2 separate regions of the Homo sapiens genome follow, and region 1 is linked to region 2. The links are contacts of gene promoters, found by promoter capture Hi-C in human tissues and cell types (Jung and others, 2019). All regions are on one chromosome and are shown on one strand. The core of a region is centred on a gene start or on the middle of the fragment in contact, and the rest is flanking DNA. Distances in the headings are between cores, read along the strand shown.

Region 1 (7,102 bases), core at 1,582-4,081, 110 kb before region 2:
CAGAAGTTACACACTTTATTTTTACTCATATCCTATTGGCAATAACAGGTACAAAATACACCTAACCACAACAGAGGCTTGAAAATATATACTTATTCTAGGTTACTATACACCCAGCTTAAAAAAGAAAAGAGTGAAAATTGTTATTGGATTAAAAGAGGCAACAGTCTGCCCAAACTCTTAACTCCTAACCCTACATCAAGCACAATGTTTGACACCTACGGTAAGGTCAGTCAGTCCACAGTCTGACTGGACAAGTCTGTGAAGACCTCACAATAAGTTCATTGTAGGCCGGGCGCTGTGGCTCACACATGTAATCCCAGCACTTTGGGAGGCCAAGGTGGGTGGATCACCTGAGGTCAGGAGTTCGAGACCAGCCTGGCCAACTTGGCAAAACCCCGTCTCTACTAAAAATACAAAAAAATAGCTGGGCGTGATGGTGCACACCTGAAATCCTGGCTACTTGGGAGGCTGAGGCAGGATAATTGCTTGACCCCAGGAGGCAGAGGTTTCAGTGAGCCGATATCATGCTATTGCACTCTAGCCTGGGCAACAAGAGTCAAACTCTGTCAAAAAAACAAACAAAAAAAGTTCATTGCCAACATATTGATAAGCTTATATACCTATGAATTTCCAACCCCTGCAATACAAAAAAAAAAAATCCTTAAAATAGACAATGGTCTTCTTCTCAGGCCCACTATACCTGAGCTCACCTAAGTGTGCCAGCCTTTTATCCTTACAATCAAGTCCTAATTAGCACACAACTTATCCTTTTAGAAAACCACATACGCAGTAACACCAGCAAAATCTGTTTAATTTTATTTTATCTGTTCCAGGCATTTCAACCCTACTTCAACTTCCATTTCAGCCTCTGGTTCCTCTTCCACCCCTCACTTTTCCCTACTCACAAAATCTCATACTGTTGCTGGTAGAAAACAAAACCAAAGAAACCTGCCCTGTGCCTGGGCCTATGTATTCCCCCTCTCTCTTCTTCTGGCAACTTTACCATCATACTGCAAAGTACAGCCAGGACGTGTCCTGGTGATGAATGGCTCGGACCATTATGGACCAGCAATAGAATAGACAATTGGGTGAGGAGAATTGATTGACTGATTGATTGATATTTTAGAAGGGAAAATTAAGCTTAAAAGGAGATATGTTATAAAGGTTTCCAATAAAGTATTTATGAACAATAGTAGTAAGATTTGACTCAAAATCAAGTATTAGTACTTTATTTTGCCTCATATGTGTCAACAGATACTAATTTGCTTTGACAAATACAGGATACCAAAAACACACACACATACACAATCAAGTCGAACTGATTTCTTCTGTACTTAGTTGTATTGCCAAGACTACTTTCTTATATTACAGAAAAAAACTACTTTTTTATATTACAGAAAAAAAAATAAGCCACCTAAAAGGTTGTTGGGGAAAAGATTGTTGGAAATTTTCTTTTTTTTTTTTTGGAGATGGAGTCTCACTCTGTCGCCCAGGCTGAAGTGCAATGGCATGATCTCGGCTCACTGCAACCTCTGGTTCCCGGGTTCAAGCAATTCTCCTGCCTCAGCCTCCCAGGTAGCTGGGATTACAGGCGCCTGCCACCACGCCCAGCTAATTTTTGTATTTTTAGTAGAGACAGGGTTCCACCGTGTTGGCCAGGCTGGTCTTGAGCTCCTGACCTCAGGAGATCCACTCACCTCGGCCTCCGAAAGTGCTGGGGTTACAGGCGTGAGCCACCATGCACAGCCTGGAAAATTTCTTAATTGGTAACCAATTATTCATTTATAGAAGTGGACAAAAATAGAGTGATGATAAATAGCAAAGATCTGAAAAAGTTGAGAAGAAAATAAATTCTCCTAAACTTCTTCAAACTTTGGTTTCCCATTATAGAAGAGGTATAACGAAATTATCAAAATAAATTACCATACACTTGTGACAACAGTCAGAGGAAGACCTTTGAAACAGCATTAGACGTTTAATAGCTCCCTTGGTGCTCTGGACACTGGGCCTCTCTCACTTCCCAAAAGAACTTGCAGAATCAATTATCACCTTCCTCTCCAATAATTAATTACCTCTTTCCTTCTTGTTCTTCAAACTCTCTCTTTACTAGATCTTTGCTTTCAGCAGATAAAATTGTTCAAGCTTCTTTTCCATGCATAAATTGCAAAATTGTTTAGATAGACCTTCTCACTTTTTCCCCGAATACTCAAGCACATTGAAAAACTCTTTCCTTACACCTCCTCTCATTCATTCCTAAGCCCAAAACCACCTTGCTTCTACCAAGACCACTTCACCAAACTCTTCCCAAAGTTAGTTCTTTTATTGCCAAACAAAGGCTTTTTACCCTTCATCTTACTGGACCTCTCTGTAACATCTAACACTGTAGATCACTTACCTCTCTTCTTAGTTTTCTCCACATGAATTTTGGGTACACCACCATTTATTACTTTGTGCAAAAAAAGTAGTGGTCCTCATCTTCTTCTCAATATTTATCTCCCTGTCTCTTACTTGTGCCTACTGCCCATTCCCGTATAGCATATGGAGGTGTTCATATACTGTGGCCCAGAGAAGACAAACAGTGTTCAACCATTTGGCTTCCCTGGGCCACATCTGAAGAAGAAGAATTGTCTTGGGCCACACATAAAATACACTAACACTAATGATAGCTGATGAGCTAAACAAAAGGTCTGTGCAACATTTTCGTGATACCTGCCACCACAGATAAGCAAAAAAGTTCTCATTCAAAGGGTTGGAAACTAGTATTGCCATTTGTTCTCCTCCTAATCACCCCTCTACATGAAGGAATTTAAAGTCCACTCTGCCTGCTCAGTTTGTCTCTTCTGTTAGGTTTACCAAGAACATCCATTCCCAACAGTCTCCCTCGTGGCCCACCCTGAATGGAGGATTCCAGGGTGATGGATGGGGTTTATTGTATTATTGTGGGCACCTGGGCCATTTCCAAACCCTACCAGACTGTGGAGTGAAATGCATTGATGAGAAATGACCCTGAGAGTGTACTGTGTTCCTGCTCTATACCCTTGATTCAGGGGCTGCTGGCCACTGACAACATCTCCTAAGACAAACACACCAGGAGAGGTACAAGACTGAGAATGACACAGAGTAGTGGTTCTCAACGTACTGCCTTTGAGACATGTAAAAGCATAATCAGCATCACCCACAAAGACTTCAGAAATGCAGATTCTCAAGTCCTGCCCCAGATCTACTGAATAAGTAACTGTGAAGATAGGGCTCAGCAAACTGCATTTTAAGCATCCCATTACATGAATCAGATGGAGGTCCAAGTTTGAGAAATACGGCTGTAGAGTATCAGATACCTGGCTTAAGTGCCAATGTGCTAGCTCTGGACTTACTAAAAACAGCCCTGGGGAATATTACTGGCAACACACTCTTATCTGGTGCCCTGTCTCCAGAATCATCTATTTACTGAGGCAGGCACAGGACACTGGAGTTTCTCCTTGCTAGTGTTCTATTTCATCTGTTTCATCCCATTCTGTTTAGTGCTTGAGCAATCTCTTTCTTGTATACTTTTGGTCTATTCCTTTTGTAATTTCAGACATTCTGTTTCTTTCTTTTTTTTTCAGATATAATATTTCTTCATTTCCTTGTCACTCCAAATACAATGATATTTTTAAAAATATTATAGTTAAAGCACAAACTGCTATGTAGAATCATAAAACATGTAGTCAGCAAATGCACTTAAACCTATGGACTTGAGAATACGTAAATTTAGAAGCTTGTATTTCACAGTGAAAGAACCTAGATAAAAAATAAAATATAAATTTGTCATAATGGAAGGAGAAAAACTGTCAGTTTTGAAACTGCATAAAAGGGTGAGATATATATTATTTAAAGTTGCACTAAAATTTCTTATGCTCAACTTGCACAGTTTTTGATTTAATCTCCACAGTGAAAATCTGGAAGCTATCTTGTCATGAGAGGGTGTTTTGGTGACATCTATATTTAACACTCTAAGGCAAAAACATATTTCCAATTATGTTTTCCAAAAATAAGGTTAATTAAAAAAATTTTTTTTGAGATAGGATCTTGCTCTGTCACCCAGGCTGGAGTGCAGTGGCATAATCATAGCTTACTGCAGCCTTCAATTCCTGGGCTCAAGCCGTCTTCCCCGCTCAGCTTCTCAGTTTTGTAGAGAGAGGTTTTCATTATGTTGCCCAACCTGGTCTCAAACTCCCAGCCTCAAGCAATCCTCCTGCCTCAGCCTCCCAAAACACTGGGATTACAGGCTTGAGCCACTGTACCCAGGCAAATCAAATATTTTAAAAATAATAGATTGTTTTAATTTTTAATTATCAAAGTTAAATATATTTAAATTAGACATAAAAATTTGGAGTTTTTTTATTTACTGGAAAAAAGCATATTTTACATAACTAGTGGGTAATATATGGAATATAAGAATAAGAGGCAAAGTCAATATAGAGAAAACAAAGAAGTCAAGCCATTAGATATAATGCCTAAAAATTTCTGATGGCTCATACTCATTACCCATATTTTAACCTAATATGTCATTTGTGAAAGTTAAAATAAAAAATACTATTTAATTTAGATGTTTTTGTACTTAATATAAACATCTTTCCACCAGCAGTTTGCAACTAAACACATTCATCTGTGTAAAATCAATATAATTATCAAAAAATGGCAGTTAAAAAAAACCCAGTCCAAGTAAGACAGTTAGACATTTACAAGGTATGACTAACAATTTCTCCACTAGAAATGCTACATAAAATCAGTTTTGTCTTACAGTCAATCAGAATATAAGAATTACAAGCAAAGGACTGAATCACAAAATACTGTATTATAAACCATGTCACTAGAAAAATTTAGATTAAAATATGCTTCAAGATACTAAAATATGATCTTTACTTAAAAGATGTCTTAATTCCAGAGGGAAATATTACTAATAAATAGCTTAGAGATGTCATTCATATCTATTTTTGTTAAGCAATTATATTGATGTTAGGTAGAGTTCAAGACTCTAGACCAAATGGTGATCAAAAATTAACAAACCTTAATAGACCTGATATTCTAAATGTATATTAGTTGAATAAATCTAAGGTTCAAGGTTTTTAAAAATATTACTAAATTAATTGTACAAACACACCGAGACATGAACAAGATCTCATGGTGAGTGACATAGCCAGGATTACTTTATTTTCATTGTCCATAGCTAAAGTTTTGCCACTTTCTCTATCACATTAAGAATTAAATTATTAAAAATAAACTTTTTAAAAATGAACTCAACCAAAGATAAAATGTGCTACACTATGACATCAAAAACTAGGAGTAGGACTGGGCATGGTGGCTGACACCTAGAATCCCAGCATTTTGGGAGGCTGAGACGGTGAATCAACTGAGATCAGGAGTTCAAGACCAGCCTGGCCAACATGGTGAAACCCCATCTCTACTAAAAATACAAAAATTAGCTGGGTGTGAAATTAGCTGGCTGTGGTGGCACACACCTGTAATCCCAGCTACTTGGGAGGCTGAGGCAGGAGAATCACTTGAACCTGGGAGGCGGAGATTGCAGTGGGCTGAGATCACGCCATTGCACTCCAGCCTGGGCGACAGAGCAAGACTCCGTCCCCCACAAAAAAAACCAAAACCAAACAACAACAACAAAAACCTGGGAGTATACAGATAACAGTCCTAATCCCTTCACTTCTCTGTTAACTGTAGACCATTCTGTTTTAAAGTCTTTGTGTATGGTTTTCTCAATCATTTTCACCATGCCACTATTTTCATTTGAAAGCAATTTAAACATTTTCAAAAGCTTGAATAGAATTTTTTTAACGCTGCAAGAGAAATTATGAGAAACAGAACAAACCAACCCATGAAGTATAAGTACTATGAATCTCAAAACCTAAGAAAAATCTGTTCCATATTTGTATTTCTATAATATTTTAGGACATTTGTAAGTATATGGTTGTTTCCCTGGAAAGTTTTAGTGAAGCCCAGGTATTTATATTTGAATGTTACTTTTTTATCTAGCATCTCTCCAAGAAAATTTGTAAAGACTGAGAAACAAATACCAACACCAATAAATAATCACCTACCTCCCTTATTAAGTATTCTTTTAAAGACACATTTCATGTGAATTTTTAAAAAAGTTTTGTATTTTTCACCTAGGATAAATGATGTCATATCCACTCTATCCCTTCTCTTAAAAATCATTTGAATTCAACCAATACAAACACAAGATATTTATAAATTTACTTTGCTTAAATCATCAATAGCAGAACTACAGTCAACTCTTTTTAATGCTATAGAAAATCATTCAACTTCTAAAACATTTCATATCAGAGACCAAGCATTTATCTTTCAATTGTTATCACAGAAGACAAGCCAAATATCATAAATGACAAATCATGTCTCTAGAGATGAAAGTTCTGTGTATTTTTTTAAAGACATGTCTTAGCATGTTAAGGTCTTTAAGATTATACAGTTACAGTTTATGAAATAGATAACTATCAAAAGTTATTTATTTTAATCTCCTTTAAAAAGTCCTTAGCCTTTGAAGGATATTTCTGAACTTTGAAATTTAGAGACTATATTGCTTTCATTTGGCTACTGTAACAAATTACCAAAGGCTAGGTGGCTTGAAACTAGAGATGTATTCTTATTCAGTAGTGGAGGCCAGAAGCCACAAATCAAAGCCTTGGCAGAAGCTAGGGGAACAAATCCATTCTTTACCTCTCTCTTAGCTTCGGATAGCTGCCCGTAAACCCTGGCATTCCTTGGCTTGTGACCACTTCACTCCAATCTCTGCCTCCATCTACACACTTTCTCCTTCTTCTGCATGTGTCTCATCTGTGTGTCTCTTATATATACACACATGCCATTGGATTTGGATAATCAAGGATGGCCTCCTCTTCTCAAGGTCCTTAATGTCATCTGCTAAAATCCTTTCTTCCAATCAAGATAACATTCCCAGGTTTGAGGGATTTGACATGGATGTATCTTTTTGGGGACTACCATTCAATCCACTGCAGAGACTAAATATTATCATTATATAAACATTTTCATTATTGCCTATAGTAGGCAAAATAATGGCCTCTGAAAT
Region 2 (7,497 bases), core at 2,879-5,378:
TCCTAATATATTCACAAGAATGGGATGAATGAATCCTTTACTCCTGCTCTGGGAGAAAGTAATGGTACCCCACAATTTTCCCACTGAGGAATCTTGTGTACTTAATTTTATCACTAGTCAACAGAGCCCCCCACCAAAAAAAAAAAAAAAAAAAACCAGCATGTAACCAGTATATCTACTGAATATATACCACTGTTGAGGGAGTTCTTATTTTATTTTATTTCAAAATCACATAATTATAACCTAAGTAAAGCATGCTGGTTCTATCTACTGTACTTATGTTTAAATGTGTTGACTTTTCTGTATCTTTAGATTAAGTGAAACTTGTATGCTTTCCTAAGACATAGATATTAAAATCCTTATCAGAATTTTTATACTAATAACCAAATAAATTAATAATTTTCAAAACAGTGAAAGCTCTTTATGTCTATAACATTAAGCATCGTACACTCCAAGCGTCCTTCAAAAGGACAACAAAGGTAACAAACTTTATTCAACAGACATTGCTAGCATAGAGCAGTCAAAAATACTTGAGGTTTCTCCTGTGTTAACACCTACTCATTGCAAGCTTGTTTCTCCTGTGTTAATACCTATTCACTGTAAGCTTGTCTTTGCTTTCATTGCTTCTTTAGCATTTATATTGAGGAAATCAAGAAAATGAGCCTCAACGGCAGTAGTTTTTATGCTCACCTACTCTCTCGTAACTCTATCCATGCTCTTTGTTCCTAAAGCTTTATTGTAAATCAATTATATTTACATACGTATATTACAAATATATAAAGAGTAACATTTATTTTTAAAATTATTCAATTAAAATATAATGCTAAATTGTATTTTTAAATATTATTTAAGATACTTTTAAAATGTATTTCAAAAGAAAGAACAGTTCAAACTTTCATTAAGGAGTCACTTGTTAAACAGTGCTGATTATGTAAAACAGTCACTTCGGAAGAAAAAATAATCATAAGGATTAATCCAAGCAATAATTATGCTGATGCTTTCCAAGGCTTTTGTATAAATAAAATTAATTATATTTTATGGGAAAAAAGCACAAAAGTACTTCAGTTAAATTGTTTCTCAAATAAGAGGTTCAGAATTCCATGTTTCTTTGCCCTCATATAAAGTGAGTACATAAATCATTATTTGAGATATGAATGCTCATGCAGAACATTTAAAGGTAGATTCATGCAGTATAGTATTATTTCAAGTAATGCCTTATCGCCATGTGCTTCCAGCTGAAAACCAACTGAAAAATAACATCCTGAGAGCTACAGAAAAGATTATTAAGCTAATGATTCCCCAAAAGGGAAAGAATATACATAAATAGCAGTGGGGTGGATGGTCTAGATAAGGATTATATATTATGCATTCTGAATTATTATTTGAGAAACCACACTGTCAGCATACCTTTCATCATGTTAATAATAAGCAACAGGTGGTTCAAGGGTAAAAAATGATGGCATTTATCCGCTCCATTCCCTCCAGAAGTCATCTTTGCAAAAACATAACTGTCTTACTAAAATGGTAATACTAAAACCTGATGAAAGTTTTTCAAATAAATCAATATTTATTTTTAGGTGTTGCATATACTTCAAAACAGATATTTGCATAAAATGTATCAGTAAATCCTTTTTAAAATTTATGTACAATTTTGATGGACTTTTTCCTTGAGATCCTAGAATAACTGAGAATGATATAGCAATAAAATCTCCATCTCTATAGAAATTGACTCCATAAATTCTAGCATATTTAGCTCTATAGTAGGCAACTCAGCTTGTCTCAATAGTTTAAGTCAAACACATTCACAAACTGTCCAAGTCCCTCAATAATTTAATAAAGTAATTTGAATAAAATAAGAGAATACTAAGTTATTCAAAATTTAAAATACATTTTAGAGAAGAAAGCTTTTATCTCTGCTCTCATTGAAGATAGTAATACTCTTACAATTCTCCCAGCGAGGAATCTTGTGTAGTTGATTTTATTAAAAAAAAAAAAAACCCAAAACAAATAGAAAACAGCATGCAACCAGTATTACCTACTAAATATATCCCATTGTTGGGAGGTCTTTCAAAAATTCATTTCTAGAAGATTTTAAAGCAGCCATTAAATAATGAAATGTCATAATGTCAAACACTGTTCAAATACTGATGAAGTGTTCAATTTTCGTTTTTGTTTTTGATTTTGCCAAATGAGGGCATGATAAACAAATTTTCTTTAGGTTTAGGAATATCTCACTCGCTATCCTTTTTGCTTGTACTCAATATTGGTGTAAACTTAAAACAAATATGCAACGGGTATGCTTTTATAAGGGCATTTATTTAGCAATAAAATGATGCTTAAGCTTTGTTCATGAAGTATGTAGGCAAGGTTCTCCATTAAATATTCTCAATCAAATGGCTAAACCTAATTTTAAAGTAAAAATTTGTGTTTCTTCAGGAATCCCTCTGCTAGATTTGGCTTGTCAGCTACTTCATGGAGAGGCTGAGAGAATGGGTTAGAGGAGGCAGGATGAAAGCTAGCCTAGGCTCCCTTTTATTTTCCTAAATGGTGACTGAGTCGGAGCTGATGAAAGAAGTTAACTCATCTCCACGTAGTGCACTGCAGATGGACTCCACGAGAAATTCTCTCAAATGTCACGGTAAGGATTGGCAATGTGTCTAGGAACCACTCTCGCTCCAGTTCAGGCCTTCCGCGTTTTAAAGGGTGGGCTAGGGGCGGTATTCAGCCAACAGGGCGGCCTCCTCACTGGGACAACCAAATTCAAGGCTTCCAGTTGTATCGTGCTCTGTACGTGAGCAGCTCTTACTGGGCTCCATTCAGATCAGGTGAGGAAAATAAAAATGACTGGCAAGCCATGGCCACTAGCTTCAAGTGTGGAAACCTGGCTCCCTCTTAATAACCCTTTTGAAAACTCCCCAGGGGAGTCTATGGTTTAACTCTTTTATCGCTGTCACCTGCAATCCTCCCGCCCTCGCAACCTCTTCCCGCAGAGTTCAAGGCAGTGATTCATTTTGGAATAAAATATAATCAAATGCATTGCAAAGATGTTCTAGATTAAAGTCATGTCGAAGCACAAATCTGATCGACAATTTTATGTAAGCGGGAGCGTTCAACGAGTCCTTACTGGTGCCGCCAAACATCCTCCCACCCTTGGAGAGCGGGCATTTATAAATCTTACATCTTCCTACCTCCTCCCTCAAATTCCTTAATGGACCATTAGTGACAGGATCGATCCTAGTTACTTTAGTAGCGATACATCGCAAAGGCACATCTGCTGTGTTTACCAGTGCCAGAAACACCATTCAAAAGTTGAGAGGTTAGAGCCAGCACTTTGTAACCTTTGTGGGCCGGGAGGGGGCACAGGGGAGAGCAGGGTGGGGGAGGAAGAGTGTGAACCTGGTGAGACCTGAACTCCTGTGCATCCAAGAAACAAGCCCTTGAACCAGCTGGGAGGGGGCAGCGGAACTGTGAACTTCTCCAGCAGCCCTGCGCCGCCGCGTTTCCCTAAACCCCTCTCCTCAGAAAACGGAGCCCACTCCCCACCCACATCCGGCGGCCGCGGCCCCCGCCTCGGAGCAGCGCGCGCGTGTGCCCGGGGATGTGGGTGCGCGGAACTTACGTCTCGGAATTTGTTCCACTGTCCGACTTCCTTGTCATACTGAGAGATTGTGGTGAGCCATTGTTTATCATCCAGAAAATTACCGCCGTCCGACCGCCCCCCGGCTGCAGCCACCGCCGCGGCAGCTGCGAGAGACTGACTGCACCAAGCGGCTGCACACACACACAGTACGGCTGACACCTTGAGCATCTGGGAGAGGAGACACAACGGGGGGTGGGGGGGCATGTCAGTGTCAAATAAGGGGTACGAAGCCAGGAGCGACCCTGGAAAACATGCATTAGCAACGACGAGGGTAGAGGGAGGAGGAGACAAGCAGAGGCAAGCGTGTCCCCTCCCCGCAGGCTTTACCCCCAAAAGCCGGGCACTCACACACACGCAGACCCAGAGGAGGAGAGGTGGGTATAAGGAAGCAAGCCCCAGCCGCAGCAGCCCGAGCGGGCACAAAACCGCTTCCTGGCACATCACCTTGTTGTGAGCCAGCACTGTGCTCGCAGCTCCTGCTGGAAATGCAGCCCTGCTCTGCCAACTCGCTGCTTTCTGGAGCTGCTGCACGCGCCGCCGTCTCGAGCCGTCCACTCAGCTCCCTGCGCCCGGCGCGCTCCCCCCATCTCCACCCTCCCTTCGCGCGCGGATCTCCAGCTTACTCCCCTCCGTTCCCCCTCCCTCCCCGACCTCCGTTTTTTTCCTCTTCCACCTCCTCCTATCCCACCTTCCTCTCGCTGGATCCCAGCTACAGTTGGCTCCGGATAGGACGCTTGGCTGGAGCCAGAGGACGAGGTAGCTCCTAGCCTAGGAATCCTTATCTGCTTTGTAACCTCTCCCCTCCAGAAGAGGTTCTCATGTTCGCGAGACAGCCTGCTCATTCTCTGCTCCTGGATTTAACACAAAGTGTACTATCTCTCGCAGTTGCCTCTGCTCCACAATTTCCAGGGTTGTCAGGCAGACGTGAGAAACAAGATCTGAGGAAAACTTTATGCATTAATAAATAAGAATACCTGGACTTCCTACCCTGTAAAGCTCCTGAACTCAGCTCCTCCCTAAAGAAAGGCCATCTATCCACAAGGTCTTGGGAGATCTGTTTAATTTCAGAAAATTTAAAGTTTGCTGTGAGCTTCTGGATTACTACCGACAGCAAACTTTCATGTTAAAGGTTGCAGTTTCTTTTTTTCTTTTCCTTTGTGTGTGTGTGTGTGTGTGTGTGTGTGTGTGTGTGTTTTGTTTTGAGAGACAGAAGCATAACGAGGTAGGGCGTTTGAGAACACCTATATCTCCTACATACTGTAGCTGCATTTTTCCCTTTATAAAAACTCCCTGGCAGCTTTATTTTAGAACGTAGAACCTGAATCGGAAACTTTAAAAGCCTACTGTCTCCCTCCTGCAAAATAAGACAGTTTTGAAGCCCGAACACCAATTTTGTATTCCAAACTTCCATTTATGACAAAATATTTGGCTTTCCATGTCGTTTCTACATATTCTAAATAAACTGGAAGGAAATCAGTAATTAGCCCCTTGTAGAGAAAATCTGATACAGAGAATCTCTCATATTTAGAGAATTTAGGTGAAGTGAATATTACACATAAATCAAGAAATGTCTGCAAGCCAATAGACTGCAATAACATTATGAATCTCTATTTGAATTATTAGAGATTTCAGCCAAAACTACATCTCCCAAAGCTACGACCTTTGAACATTTCTTGTAGCCTCCAAAACTTCAGAAGCTATTCGAATAGCAGCAGTACACATTTTCCATATCAATCTCGTCTAACATTTTGCAATCTATATTAACAAAACGACCAAACTCAATGTTTAATGTTAATTTCCTTTTTTAATGTAATATTTCAAAATAAATGTATAATATGTATGGTAGGAAATATAAGTGTAATATTTATATAGGAAAGAAATTTCTATTACTATTTTTAACTCAGAAAAAGATGTTTTTCTCAATTCCCCCCATTTCTACAGTGATGAATGCAATTAGTGGAGAAAAACACGGAACATACTACTGCAATTCATGGGAGCCCTGATTGACACGAACAAATGTCAGAAAACTTTAAGAATATAGATGTGTGCTAATTCTTCAAAGATATTTATTTTTGCCTGTTCACAGAGGGTTATTACCATGTAGTTTACATATTTAAATTCTTGTTTAGTAAATTTATTAAGACAATAGTAGGTGGTCCATTCTCCACTATCACCTTTTCCTGACCCCTGGTCCTTTGACCTCCCACACTCTCATCCTTAGCTCTCTTCCTCAAAATTTGAAGAAATACTTTATTATTAATAAGAATATCTCATCATGTTTTAAAACCTCATTATTTCTAAATTTAAGTCTAATAGGGAAAGCACAGAAATTGTTTCTTACAAGAAACTGATACTTGGCAGAAGTCAGTAATTCTAAAAGTAAAAATGACCTTCTAACCTTTGTAACTTACCTTTTAAAAAGATAGTTGTTATTAGCTACAAAATACTTGATGAGGAATAATGCTCTAACACTCATCCCCTTCAGCATCTGCTATACATTTTAGCTCAATAACTGGCACCATCTAAGGCCAACATGGTCACCTTTAGATTTATGGAAGCACATATATTTATGTTTATACAGCATTTCCCCCCCAAATACGTCTATTTTGTGGCTGACTCTCCAATGTTCAGAGCATGTTTTCACATCTAGCTTTCACTGGCAGCTTCCCATACTGCAGCTCCACAGGGACGTCTCCAAGTTGTGAAATTTGTTGAAAACAAACAATGACAGTTGAATTCATCTTGGGAGAAATGCCTTTGATAGGGTTTTAAACTACAGATCTGAAGATAGAGTAGGATTTACTAGCAAATTGCAAGTTTAAAATTCTAAAGTCAAAAGAGGCAGAGTGAGCCTGTCTACAGTGTATTTGTGTTGGCCTGGTGTGGTCCAGTCACCTGACTGCTCCTACAGCTCCTTAAGCTTCTCTTTCCAAGCCATTGCCATTGTCTAGGCTAAGTGGGCATGTTGGTAGTGAGAGTCAAAGTCTAGTAGGTGTGATGTTGTGATGTTATTAATCACAGGGAAAGGTTTCTATCAGTTTCTCTATATATCAATATTTTGGTCCTCAAACAGCCTGCTTTCAAGGTTTAAATAATCCTAGGAGAATTCACACTTCAGTTAACACCTTGGTTATCAGTTATCACCTCAGTGGGGATTCATTGAAAGCTTGCTGAGAGCAAAACACAGCAGAGAATAATAAGGGAAGAGTATTAGGTGGGCAGTAAGATATTGGAAGAGAGTAGTCAGGAGCCTTGTATGTCAAGGTAGGTGAGTAGACAAGAAATACTTCACTGACTGCTTCCCAGATAGATGGAGAGCCAGTCTAAAAAACTGGAGAAGCCAAAAACGCAGAAAGTGGGGTGCAGCATATGAGGTGGGTAAAGTGAGACGCTGGTGCCAGGGCTGGGACTTGATTTTATTTTTCAGATCATGCTTTACAAAATTGGAACTCAGAGCAAGACACAGGGCTTCAGATTCCCAGCCCCTTTGTTGTCATTCTGCCACCTGATGCAGAAACATAGTTTAGATACATTATGAAAAGCCAATGCTGAGGCCACTGCTAGATTGAACTTTGCTTTCATATTTGTGTATTTGTCCCTTTAGTTGTTCTTTCTCTCTAAACGTTCAGTAAATCAGTCCACAAATATCTATCATGAAAGATGTAAGGAACATTTTTGATAGGTATTATTTTAATTAAATGTATTTCTTCTGAAGGTTTCCTTACCCTCATTTTCAGACATGACACAGCTCTAGAAATAAAAATGCTAAGCATATATAATGACAGCTGGTCCATTTCTAACCGCCTTTGAGGTTGGATCCATGACCTTCATATAACTCCATTTATTTAAATGCGTGC

What was found. The method cuts DNA at HindIII sites, captures the fragments that hold promoters and counts their contacts. A contact is called where the count stands out against the background at its distance.
Region 1: a fragment that was not itself captured here is called in contact with the fragment with the promoter of SPOCK3 in region 2 in 2 of the 25 tissues and cell types used here (hippocampus and thymus).

The regions. Positions count from the first base shown.
Region 1 is chr4:167,125,977-167,133,078 of GRCh38, forward strand. All of the region lies in intron 2 of SPOCK3 (SPARC (osteonectin), cwcv and kazal like domains proteoglycan 3), which reads right to left. Among named protein-coding and RNA genes, the nearest start is that of SPOCK3, 100 kb to the right of the region's middle. The HindIII fragment of the contact is 3,906 bases long and covers 879-4,784 here.
Region 2 is chr4:167,230,366-167,237,862 of GRCh38, forward strand. SPOCK3 (SPARC (osteonectin), cwcv and kazal like domains proteoglycan 3) reads right to left here and starts at 4,129. Exons shown (of 11, transcript NM_001040159.2): 1 at 4,085-4,129; 2 at 3,620-3,808. The coding sequence starts at 3,808. The HindIII fragment of the contact is 6,194 bases long and covers 2,123-7,497 here.